Regions from separate parts of the Homo sapiens genome. Here region 1 is linked to region 2. The links are contacts of gene promoters, found by promoter capture Hi-C in blood cells and fetal thymus (Javierre and others, 2016). All regions are on one chromosome and are shown on one strand. The core of a region is centred on a gene start or on the middle of the fragment in contact, and the rest is flanking DNA. Distances in the headings are between cores, read along the strand shown. Region 1 overlaps SEC16A (SEC16 homolog A, endoplasmic reticulum export factor). Region 2 holds the start of AGPAT2 (1-acylglycerol-3-phosphate O-acyltransferase 2).

What was found. Contacts are between HindIII fragments. The CHiCAGO score rates a contact against its expected background, and 5 or more counts as called.
Region 1: a contact is called between a fragment that was not itself captured here and the fragment with the promoter of AGPAT2 in region 2, in 1 of 17 cell types (endothelial precursors). The highest score is 7.0, in endothelial precursors.

What each region holds. Positions count from the first base shown.
Region 1 is chr9:136,450,444-136,456,003 of GRCh38, forward strand. SEC16A (SEC16 homolog A, endoplasmic reticulum export factor) reads right to left here. Exons shown (of 32, transcript NM_014866.2): 20 at 5,158-5,350; 21 at 3,666-3,884; 22 at 2,985-3,067; 23 at 813-965. Among named protein-coding and RNA genes, the nearest start is that of INPP5E, 13 kb to the left of the region's middle. The HindIII fragment of the contact is 1,101 bases long and covers 3,439-4,539 here.
Region 2 is chr9:136,685,639-136,690,749 of GRCh38, forward strand. It overlaps AGPAT2 (1-acylglycerol-3-phosphate O-acyltransferase 2), which reads right to left and starts at 1,819. Exons shown (of 6, transcript NM_006412.4): 1 at 1,538-1,819. The coding sequence starts at 1,719. RefSeq lists an enhancer at 424-1,285 and silencers at 1,006-1,575, 1,796-1,995, 2,466-2,545. The HindIII fragment of the contact is 21,227 bases long and covers 1-5,111 here.

The sequences.
Region 1 (5,560 bases), core at 2,739-5,238, 230 kb before region 2:
CCAGCCTGGGCAATAGTGAGACCCCATCTTTATGGGGGAAAAAAAAAACAACGGATAGAGACTTGAACAAGCACTGCCCCAAAAGAGTGGTGAGATGGTAACAGGGACACGAGAAGGTGCCCAGCGTCACACCTCGCTGTGGAGATGCAGAGGAAGACACAATGAGATGTCATCAGCCCCAGCACAATGGCTAAGTTAAAGAACCGGCACTGCCCAGTATTGGTGAAGATGAGGGATATCCAGGGCCCTTGTCCTCTGCTGCAGGATGTGTGACTTGGGGCAACCAACCATTTAGGACAACTGCTCAGCAGTGTCTCCTAAAGCTGAACACACGCTCATCCTGCGAGCTAAACCCTCAGCTCCTTGGCACGCACCTAAGAAAAACAAGCGCATTCGCCAATAGATAGGCAAGGAGGCTCCTGGGGCCTGACGGATCCCAGCCCCACACTGAAAGCAGTCCCAAAGTCCACGGCTGGGAGAAAGGATCTGTGAGCCGGCAGCAGGCACACACCACAGTGACAAAGCAGCGGCTGCCGTCTGGTCCCTTGCGGGTGGGTCTGACAGGTAGTGGCCAGAGGCGACCTCTGGGGGCCGGGCTGTGTCCCCATGCTGACCTGGGTGGGCTATTATCCTATTATCTGAAGGCACAAATACACAGACACCCATCATGCCGTGTGCACTGTAGACACTCGGCTGTTTGTATCAGGAGGCTATTTGCATGTGTGGTGAATTAAGAGGATGGCGCTCTGGGAAGCGTGCCTCCTGCCCAAACCCTCCCGGCCGCCAGGCGCACCGTGGGCAGGCTGTACTACCTTCTTAGGTTCCTTCGTTTCTTTCTTGGCTGCCTGTCCGGGTCTCTTTGTTTCGGGAGCGGGTGAGAGAGACAGAGGTGGCTGCGTGGGACCCGAGTCGGCACGATCCCACCCTGGGGGGGCCTCCGAGTCTGGCACCGTCCTCGAGGGGGTCTGTCGCAAGGAAATGCAGAACAGGCTCTCCTGGGGCTCCTCACAGGAACCGAAAGAGAGAGGGGGATGCAATTCCCCAGGCGTGTTTCCTAAATACATCACTGAGAGGCCGGATGACTCTGGTGACCAGAGGGAGGCAGGAAGGGGGCTGGGGAGAGCAGCCCCCTGACTGGGCCTCCCAGAGCCTCTACCTGGCCTGACTAGAGAAGAGCCAGCCGCACTTAATAAGCAGCTCCGTCTGGGAGCACTCAGCACTCAGAATGCAAATGAGGGCGTTCGATGGAGATTCCGGGCTGGAAGAAACGGAGTGTGAGCATGCACTGAGGGAAGACTGGCCAGAGGGGGGCGATGGGTGTTCTCAAAGATACAATGATTTTTAAAAATATTTATTCCTGGGTCAAGTCCCAATTTTTAATAGCTCAACCCTCATTTTTACTTTTCCAGGGACACAGTATTTTAAAGGGTAAAACACCTAATGCAAGTTCAAACTATAGCAATCGCCTACTGATGGGATGCCCGTGAAGGGCTGGGTATCTGTAAAGAAGGTTCCAGAATGCGGTCTGTATAAAAGCAACCATCCCTCCTGGTTAGGAGTAGAGCAAACAGAGGAGGTATTTATACCAAACATGTCTAATGAGATAAATCTCACTTTCAGGAAAACCAGTGACAATGTTAGAAATTCTACTGAATTCCAGGACATCCTCTTGTGAGATCAAAAAATTAGAAAAGAAATTCTACTGTAGAAAAAGAGACGGCCGGGCTGGGCGGGGTGGCTCATGCCTGTAATCCCAGCACTTTGGGAGGCTGAGGCAGGTGGATCATGAGGTCAGGAGTTCAAGATCAGCCTGGCCAAGATGGTGAAACCCCATCTCTACTAAAAATACAAAAAAAAATGAGCTGGGTGTGGTGGTGGGCGCCTGTAGTCCCAGCTACTCAGGAGGCTGAGGCAGAGAATTGCTTAAACCTGGGAGGCAGAGGATGCAGTGAGCCAAGATCGCACCACTGCACTCCAGGCTGGGCGACAGAGAGAAACTCCATCTCAAAAAAAAAAAAAAAAAAAAAAAAAAAAAGAGATGGCCAGGTGCAGTGGTTCACACCTTAATCCCAGCACTTTGGGAGGCTGAGGCAGGCAGATCACTTGAGGTCAGGAGTTCGAGACTAGCCTGGCCAACATGGCGAAACCCTGTCTCTACCAAAAAATACAAAAAATTAGCCAGGCATGGTGGCACATGCCTGTAGTCCCAGCTACTTGGGAGGCTGAGGCTGGAGAATCACTTGAACCTGGGAGGCGGAGGTTGCAGTGGCCAAGATGGCGCCACTGCATTCCAGCCTAGGCGACAGAGCGAAACTATGTCTTAGGGAAAAAAAAAAAAAAAAAAAAAGGCCAGGCTTGGTGGATCACACCTGTAATCCCAGCACTTTGGGAGGCTGAGGCGGGTAGATCATGAGGTCAGGAGTTTAAGACCAGCCTGGCCAACATGGTGAAACCCCATCTCTACTAAAAATACAAAAACTAGCCGGGCATGGTGGCACACACCTGTAGTCCCAGCTACTTGTGAGGCTGAGGCACAGAACTGCTTGAACCCAGGAGGTGGAGGTTGCAGTGAGCCGAGATCGCACCACTGCACTCAAGCCTGGGCGACAGAGCAAGAATCTGTCTCAAAAAAAAAAAAAAGAAAAAAAAAAGAAAAAGAGATGTAGAAATCAGAGAAGGTACCCATTTTGGAAGAATTAAAATTAATAAGGGGATTTCATGATATTTGGGTATTTCTTCTACTTAAAGTAACTGTTTTTACACTACTGAATTCTCTCTTCCCCATCTTTCCCTGCCAGTGTTTTCACCAACTCTTCATATTTTAAGGATGAAAGCTATTTAGAAGCACTTTCACTTTAAGAAACAATTTTAGAAACAATTTCATAGTCCTCACTACCATCATCTTACAACTCAACAAGGAGTCTGGGTGCCCACTCGATGAACTTTATGGAAAACAAACAGTTTAAGAAAATGTGACAAAGTACCAGATTAGCAAATTTTCCATCAAAATTTTCTTCGCTTAGCTCGGAAAGTGAGTTTCCAACAGGCGCCTCCTGCGGCACTATCCCTGTCAACGGGAAAGAGAGCAACTATGATCTCAGTCACGAGAAGGCGGGACGTGTGTGTGGCGCACAGATCAACAGGCACACCACCTTCCCACCCAGCTACCGCCACACCAGCATGATCTGCAGAAACCAAGGCTGAACATCTTCCCACATGTGTGCACACTCTTTCATTTTTAAAACTAGGCCTATGTTTTGCTTTGTCCATATACACACATGTAGACATAGGCACAGACCAGGGACAAGATCCACCAAATCGAGTTCCAGACAGTTCATGACCTGCCCCTGTGCATCTCACCAGGCGTCCAGCAGGGCCGTCTAAAGACAGACCCCAGGAGACCCATGGCCACCATGCCCTGCCCCAAATGGCCATTTAAGCTTCACAACAAAAAGCCAAGTTACAAAAGGAACTGGCATTAACACTGCTGTTGTAGTGAGACTCTGAACCCATCCAGTCTGTAACTTCCAGAATTTCTGGTCTACGTTAAGACAAGTAATGTAAGTTGTTTCAAGCTCAAATAACTTCAATCTCTTCCACCAATCCCCACAAACACCACACCCCATGCTGCTTCTGCTCTCGAGACAGCATCTCTGCAGCCCCACCTGGGTCTGGGCTCCTGGCTTCCTGGAGCAAGTGTCTCCTTTCCTGCAGAGGTGGCACACCAGGTGGGAGGCCAGGCCCGGAGGGCTCCAGGAAGCCAAGTGCAGGCCCTGGGGTCACACAGCCAGGACCCGGCTCCAGGGGCCCCGGGGGCAGTGGCACTGGGAACATCGGCACTCTGGCAGGACTGGCCAATGGGCCGTCAGGGAGCGTCTGCGGAGCTGCATGGGAACGGTGGAGAAGAGGTCTGGGGTTACTGAGGGTAGCTTGAGTTACTGGAAGGAGCTGACACTCGACGTGTTTATGACAAGTTATTTTGTACAGCCCCATTTCTTTTATAAGGGAGGTCCAACAGAGCAGAAAGCCTGAAGCCACCACCCCACCGCACCATCCGTGGTTTGCAGAAAAGCAGAGTATCCGCTTCCTTTTCTAGGGGAGGGGCACTTGAGCAGTCACAGCGGCACGCGGGCTCCAGGGCCCGGCCCACACGCAAGCCCATGGCGGCCGCCTGGCACAGAGCTCTGCTAGGCCCGAGTCCCCTCCTCCACGGCCAGGGGTCACACAGGCCACTCGTTCATTCCTTCATTCTTCCGACTCAACATAAAACCTGAGAGGGCTGCTGCCTACCAGCACCATGCTGGGCCCTGGATGCTTCAACAACAAAAGAAATGCTGGGTCCTCATGGGGGTCGGGACAGATGAACTGAGTAAGAGAAAGCGCTAAGGACAGCAATCAACCAGGAAGTGGTAACGGTGTCTGAGGACGAAGCAGACTGGACATCAGGCAGGGAGGGTGGGCAGTGGGCCCAAATCAGGAGTGTGGCTGGTCCACAGCGTGGGAGTGGACATGGCACGAGGGCAGGAGGGCTCAGGGCCAAGCTTGGAGGGCCTGTGGCCACCGTGAGGACCCTGGCTTGTCCTCAGGTGAGATGGAGAGTCTGGAGGGTCTGGGGAAGAAGCAGGAGGCGAGCAGGAAGGAGCCCGTGCTCATCCAGGCATGCGGACCTGCGTGCAGGCCGCGCTGGTGAGGTTCACTGACGAAGGAAGCCGAGAAGCGCGAGAGAGGAGGGGGCATCTGGACTTGACTCCCTGGAGCTCTGGGCTGGCCCTTCCACCGACGGGGCCGACTGGGAGAAGCAGGTTACAGAGGGGCACAGCCGAGGGCGCCGCCCAGACACGGTGCGGCTGAGGCTCCCGGAGAAACAAGCAGGGAGGCTGAGCAGGCAGCGGGCGCTCAGGGCAGTGTCGCCAGCACATGGATATTTATGGACATGGAAAGCCATGAGCCTCCCCTCCATGGGCTCCTCAGGGGAGGAAGCATGAAGGGAAGAGGGAGGAGACCGAGGAGCCCCACAACCACCGAGGTGGTGTGAGACACTGCCTCCAACAGTCCACATCTGAAAGCAGTTCTCCAGGAGGCAAGGGTGCAGGCCATGGCTCAGCCCACAGGAAGCAGGGGCTTGTCTGAGGGCAGCAGCCGCGCACCTGGGCTCACCTGAGGGCAGCAGCCGCACGCTCGGGCTCGAGTGCTCAGGGCTCGGTGCAGGCACCGCCAGCAGAGGGTTGGCGATCCCCAGGGCTCCTGGCTGACTGAGTCCTGGCCTGTCCAACTGCTCCATCTCGGAACTCGGAGTGCCAGGACACTGCTGCGGGAGGGCTCCATCCTGATGCCATACTCCAGCCCCCTCCTGAGGGAGAACAAGACCTGCCCTGTGGAAGCCGCCTGTGGCCGCTCTGCAGCGCTGCCCGCCTGCCACCACCGCGCTTGCTGTGTCCCTACTTCAGGACAGGAGGCACTCAAAGCCCTTTCTGGGGAATTAGGGAATTCTCATAGGCACACGTTTGCAGTTACACTGTCTTTACAGATACATACTTTCAGTGTGGAAATGACAGGGACA
Region 2 (5,111 bases), core at 569-3,068:
AGGATGCCCTGCAGGCATCAGAACCACACAAGCCATTTCCTCGGGGTGGGGGGCACCCCAAGGAACCCACAGACTGGCCCCTCCTCAGCTGGGAAAGCCGCACCCTCGCCCCTACTCTGAAGCACCCCAGGGGCTGAGGGGGGCCCCTCACAGAGACCCCTGCCTACAGGGGATCCCAGGGCCAGAACCACAGGTGAGGCCTTCACAGATTCCAGCACAGGTGCCCAGAGCCCAGCCCCCAGGAACTCCCTGTTTCTGCAAACTGCCTTCCTCGCTGAAGGGTGCTCCACTGGGGACGTCAGCGCCAGTCACCACCTGGGCCAGCCCTGGAGTGTGCGCTCCCCGGGACCCCGGCCTGGGCCACCTGGCCCACATCACCACTGGTCACACACGTCTGGCTGAGCAGCCAGCAGGCCCTTCTCGGACTCTCCATGCTCACCATCAGGCCCAGGGTCCTCCTTCATATTCCTGGAGCTTCTGGGGCTCCGTTGGAAGCCATGACTGTAGGCCCGTTCCAGCAGCCTCAGTGCCCTCCCAGGGCTGGCAAGGACAGCGAGTGCAGGGAGCTAGCAAACCCTCACCCACTGCCCCTGGAACCACGGGGAAGGGGGCCTCTGGGGCCACAATGCCCCCACCCCAGGCCATTGCAAAAGCCACTGGCTGGGCAGTCCAAACAGGGCAGGGAGAAATGTAGCAACAGCCTGGGGACGGCTAACAGGGAGAGGGGGCAGGCAAGAGCCTTCTCCAGCAGCCACCCCGCCCAGGAGCAGGCAGCCCCCGCCGTCTTTGGCAGCCCAGTCTGACCTCTGGCCCCCAACCCCAGCCTGGCAAAACCAAGCTCCCACCTTCTGGAAGGCGTCCAGGGGAAAATTTCAGCCCCGCCGAACCCTAGTCCTAACTCTTCCTTCCCTTCGCTTGGAAGCTGGGCCCCCGGAGCTGTAGGCCAGGGGCGCGCTCCCCAGCACGGAAGCAGGTCCCCTCCGGGTCCCCCACCTCCCTGCGAAGAGGAAAGGGAGAGAAAGGGGAACCCGCCCCACAGGTGCGCCCATCACCGGGCGGACAGTCAGGAGGGGGTCGGAGGGAGGCCGAGGGGTGCCCCCACGCCGTCGTGCGCCCTGATCAATAGCCCTGGGGCAAGTCCCCGCCGCCCCGGCCTCGGTTTCCCCGCTCAGGAAGCAGGGCTGAGCCTCTCCCAGCGCGGACCGGCCCCCTTTCTCTCCGAAAGCTGCTCCACCCCCGGAACCCCACGCCGGGCTGCAGGGACGCGGCGGAGGCCGAAACCGGTGTAGACGCCCGGGGCCAGGGCGGGGGGTGGGGTGCTGGGCACTGTGACGCCGGCTCCTTGACCCCGTGACTCCGGGACCCCCTGACTCCGGGACCCCCTCCTGTGCCTGCCGCCGGCCCAGGCGCGCTCTCCCCGGAGCCCCGGAGCGGGGCGGGACGGGCGGGGCAGGAAGGAGGGAAGCCCAGAAGAAAGTTAGGGAAGCGGAAGCGGCGCGGCGGTTCCCCGGCCCCTCCCGGCGGCCCCCGGCCTTGCCTCATGTTCTCCACCGTCCGGCCGCCGTGGCGCAGCAGGCAGACGAGCGAGGCCACGGCGGACACCGTGAAGCACAGCGCGCAGTACAGGGCGACCTTGGCGTAGAACTCGGCCGCGCGGCTCAGCTGCACCAGCAGCAGCAGCAACAGCAGCGCCGCGGCCAGACACGGCCACAGCTCCATGGCCCGGCCCGGCGCCCGACGGCGCCGCCAGCTCGCTCCCGCTCCCGCTCCCGCTTCTCCCCCGCGCGCTCAGGCCCCTTATTGCGAGGGCGGCGGGGCTGGGCGGGGCGGGGCGCGGCGTGGGGGAGGAGCGCGCGGCAGGGAAGGGCTAGGTGCGGCGCCCCGCCCCGACACTGTCCCCAACAACGCCCCGACACGGTCCCCTCACCAGGCCCCGCCCCGCCACTGTCCCCAACCCCGCCCCGACACGGCCCCCCCTTCCCGCCCTGGGTCACCCGGCCCGGACCTCCCCTCCACGCTCCCTCCCCACAGCCTTCTGCCAGGTTACCGAGGCTCTGGCGCTCTGCTCCCACCCTCCCGGTCCCAGGGGACCCCCCCATCATGGCTTGCCGGTGGCTCGGGCTCTGGCGCTGCCCCCCATGGTCTGGGCCTCCTGCCCCGCCCGGTGCCCCCTCCCCCCGCTGCCGGGGCAGCCACAGGCTCCCGCGCGCAGAACCACAGCTCCCCAAGGGCGTAAAACCAGCGGGGATGCGCCCGTGCCAGGCCGGTGGCCACGCAAAGGGCCGCCGGAACCGCCCCCGAGTGACCAGTGGCCACCTGGCAGAAAGCCTGGCTCTTAGGGTGTTCTCGGTCCCCTGCGGGGAGACTCGTGGGGGCGCGCAGGCCAACTGGGGCGTGTGTCTGGGCGGGGCTGGGTTGCCCCACCCTGGGTGCCAGAAGTAGCCTTGTCACCAGGGACGCTCCGGGGGCAGGCGAGGTGGGTGTCAGGTGGCGGCGTTCACATCCGCTTGGCAGCACGGCCAGCGTGGCAGGGCAAGGTGCAGCTGGGACAAGGGCAGCAGTCACCTGGCCCGGCCCCCACCCGGCGTCCCACCTCAGGGAGCAGATGGAGATTGAAAAGCAGTTTCCTGGGGTCCCTCCTCATAGGGACTCTTGGGTTTGCTGCAGTTGCGGGAGTGCTGGCCGCCCTGCGCTCTAACGGGTCAGCAGGGGAGCACGGCCCCTCTTTTTTCAGATGCAGAGTTGAGCTGTTAAAACATTTCCCTGAACATTGTAACCACCCCCCAAACTGTACTGAGAGAATGACAAATACAGAAACTGCTCTTCAAATGAATGGGGAACTGCGGTCCTGAAGGACGTGGGGTCTCGCTGCCTGGGCTCAGCAGCCCCTGCCCAGGCGGTCCCAGCTTTTCTTGAAAGTGGAGACACATCCTTTTGCCTTAGGCCTGTAGGCATCTTACAGCGAAACCCAGGAGAGCATTTTCCAGCCCAGTCTCCTTCCAGATCCATATGGGCTTCATCTGGAATCAGCTTGGAGGGCCTGGCTTGACCTCTTTCCACGCTTGGAGCCGGAACTGCACACCCCGCAGCCGGGAGGTCTGAGAGCTGCACTGCTGTGCCTCTGAGAGGCTGAGAGGTGGCTGCTGACGGCTGCGGGGTTTTCATCTTCCAGGGCAGATGAGGTGGGTGCACCCTGCAGACAGGAGTGCCGCTGCCGGGAGCTGGGGGATGCGGGGGTGTGGGCTGGGGTCCCAGGTGGACTTCCTGGAGGAGTGGGGCTTCACAGCACCTTCAGCTGGAGGCTCTGTGCACCCAGGTCCCGAGCAGGTTGTACCCTGGCTGTGGAATCCAGTCCTCACAACCATCAGGCCTGTCCAGGGGCTTTACATGCCAGCCCCCTTCTTGTCCTTTACCTCCCAGCCCACCGACCTTTCCAGGGTGGCCACCATCTTCCTGCACCCCTAGGTGACTGTGTGTGTGTTGGACACCTCTCCCTCCTCTCCTCCCCCCGGAATGGAGCCCGTGGGGCCTCATCTGTTTTGTGCACCATGTGCGACCAGCACTCAGGCCAATGTCTGGCACATAGCAGGTGCTCAGCACACACTTTCCATAGTAGCAAAGGCATCCCCATTTTACAGAGGGAAAACTGAGGCTCTCAAGGGTGAACACCAGACAGCCGGGACGTGACAGAGGAAAAGAGGCTGACTCTGAGCCGGAAGACTCCTGCCAGGGCTGGCAGGAACAGTGCCAGGGCAGCACACGGTGACCCTGTTGCCTCCCCAGACAAGGTGGGGTTTTGCCCACTGCTCTCCTGAAGAGGGTGAGACCTAATTTCACCTCCTCCCTCTTCTCTGCACCTTGCAGAAGTGTTGAGAGAAACGTCCACTTTTCCTCCGACAAGATCCAAGAGGAGGCGGGCCAGGGACTTGGGGAGTGATGAGGAAGTACTGTGTATTTTAATATAATGCCACATTTGGGAAGCTAACACATTATTTGTTTCTAGAAGTAAAGCTCCAGAGAATCTTATGGGCTGGCAGAGATGCCAAGAAAAGAGATTTTCTTCTTCTTTTTTTTTTTTTGAGACGGAGTCTCGCTCTGTCACCCAGGCTGGAGTGCAGTGGCGTGATCTCGGCTCACTGCAAGCTCTGCCCCCTGGGTTCAAGAGATTCTCCTACCTCAACCTCTTGAGTAGCTGGGATTACAGGCGCCCGACACCACACCCGGCTAATTTTTGTATTTTTAATAGAGACAGGGTTTTGTCATGTTGGCCAGGCTGGTCTCAAACTCTTGACCTCAAGTGATCTGCCCGCTTCGGCCTCCCGAAGTGCTGGGATTACAGATGTGAGCCACCGCGCCCAGCCTAGAAAAGAGATTTTCTCTAAAATGAGTGCTTCTCACCCAGGGAGGGCTGGCATGGGCTCTGCTGGGTTTATCCCAAGAGTGTGGTGAGGGACTGGGAGCCTGGTTCTGTTGTGTAGGGATGGCCAGCGCCCTGTCTGACCCTTGAGATGCCCTCAGCTACCAGGGGCAGGGAGTGCTGGGCCGGTGGTGGCCGTGCGGCTGTACCCACCCAAGGACAGCTGAGAGTCCTCCTGGGCATTTGCTGGGACCCGGCCAGACAGCGCATGACACCAGGTGACAGTGAGAGCTGAGTTGGCACCGGCTGCTGAGGCCCGGGGAGCCCACACAGCTCAGGGAGCGAGTGAGGACGGAAGGACCAGCCAAGCCTCTCCAATTCCAGGAAGCAGAGATGAAGCCAGTGCTGTGTGGCCCAGGAAGGACTGGCAGGGGCAGGGCAGCCGGGCTTTGAAGACCAGTCCATCTGGCTTTAAACCTAAACCCTGAGTTAGCCAAGGCACCAGAGCCTCGGTTTCCTCATCTGTAAAGTGGAGACGTGACGCTCGCCGTGCCCAGTGTGTGACAGGAGGCAGCTGCCGGGCTGGCGGGGCACATGGGCCTGACTAGGCCTCTCCCCAAAGACCTGCCCCGGAGAGACACCAGGACAAGAGCCAGGGAAGGGGAGAGCTTCTCGGCAGCTGGAGACACGGGGACGTGTGGCCAGGGGGCAGCCACGGCACAGCTGGGCCTCGGGCTGGACCCTTCAGGGGCTC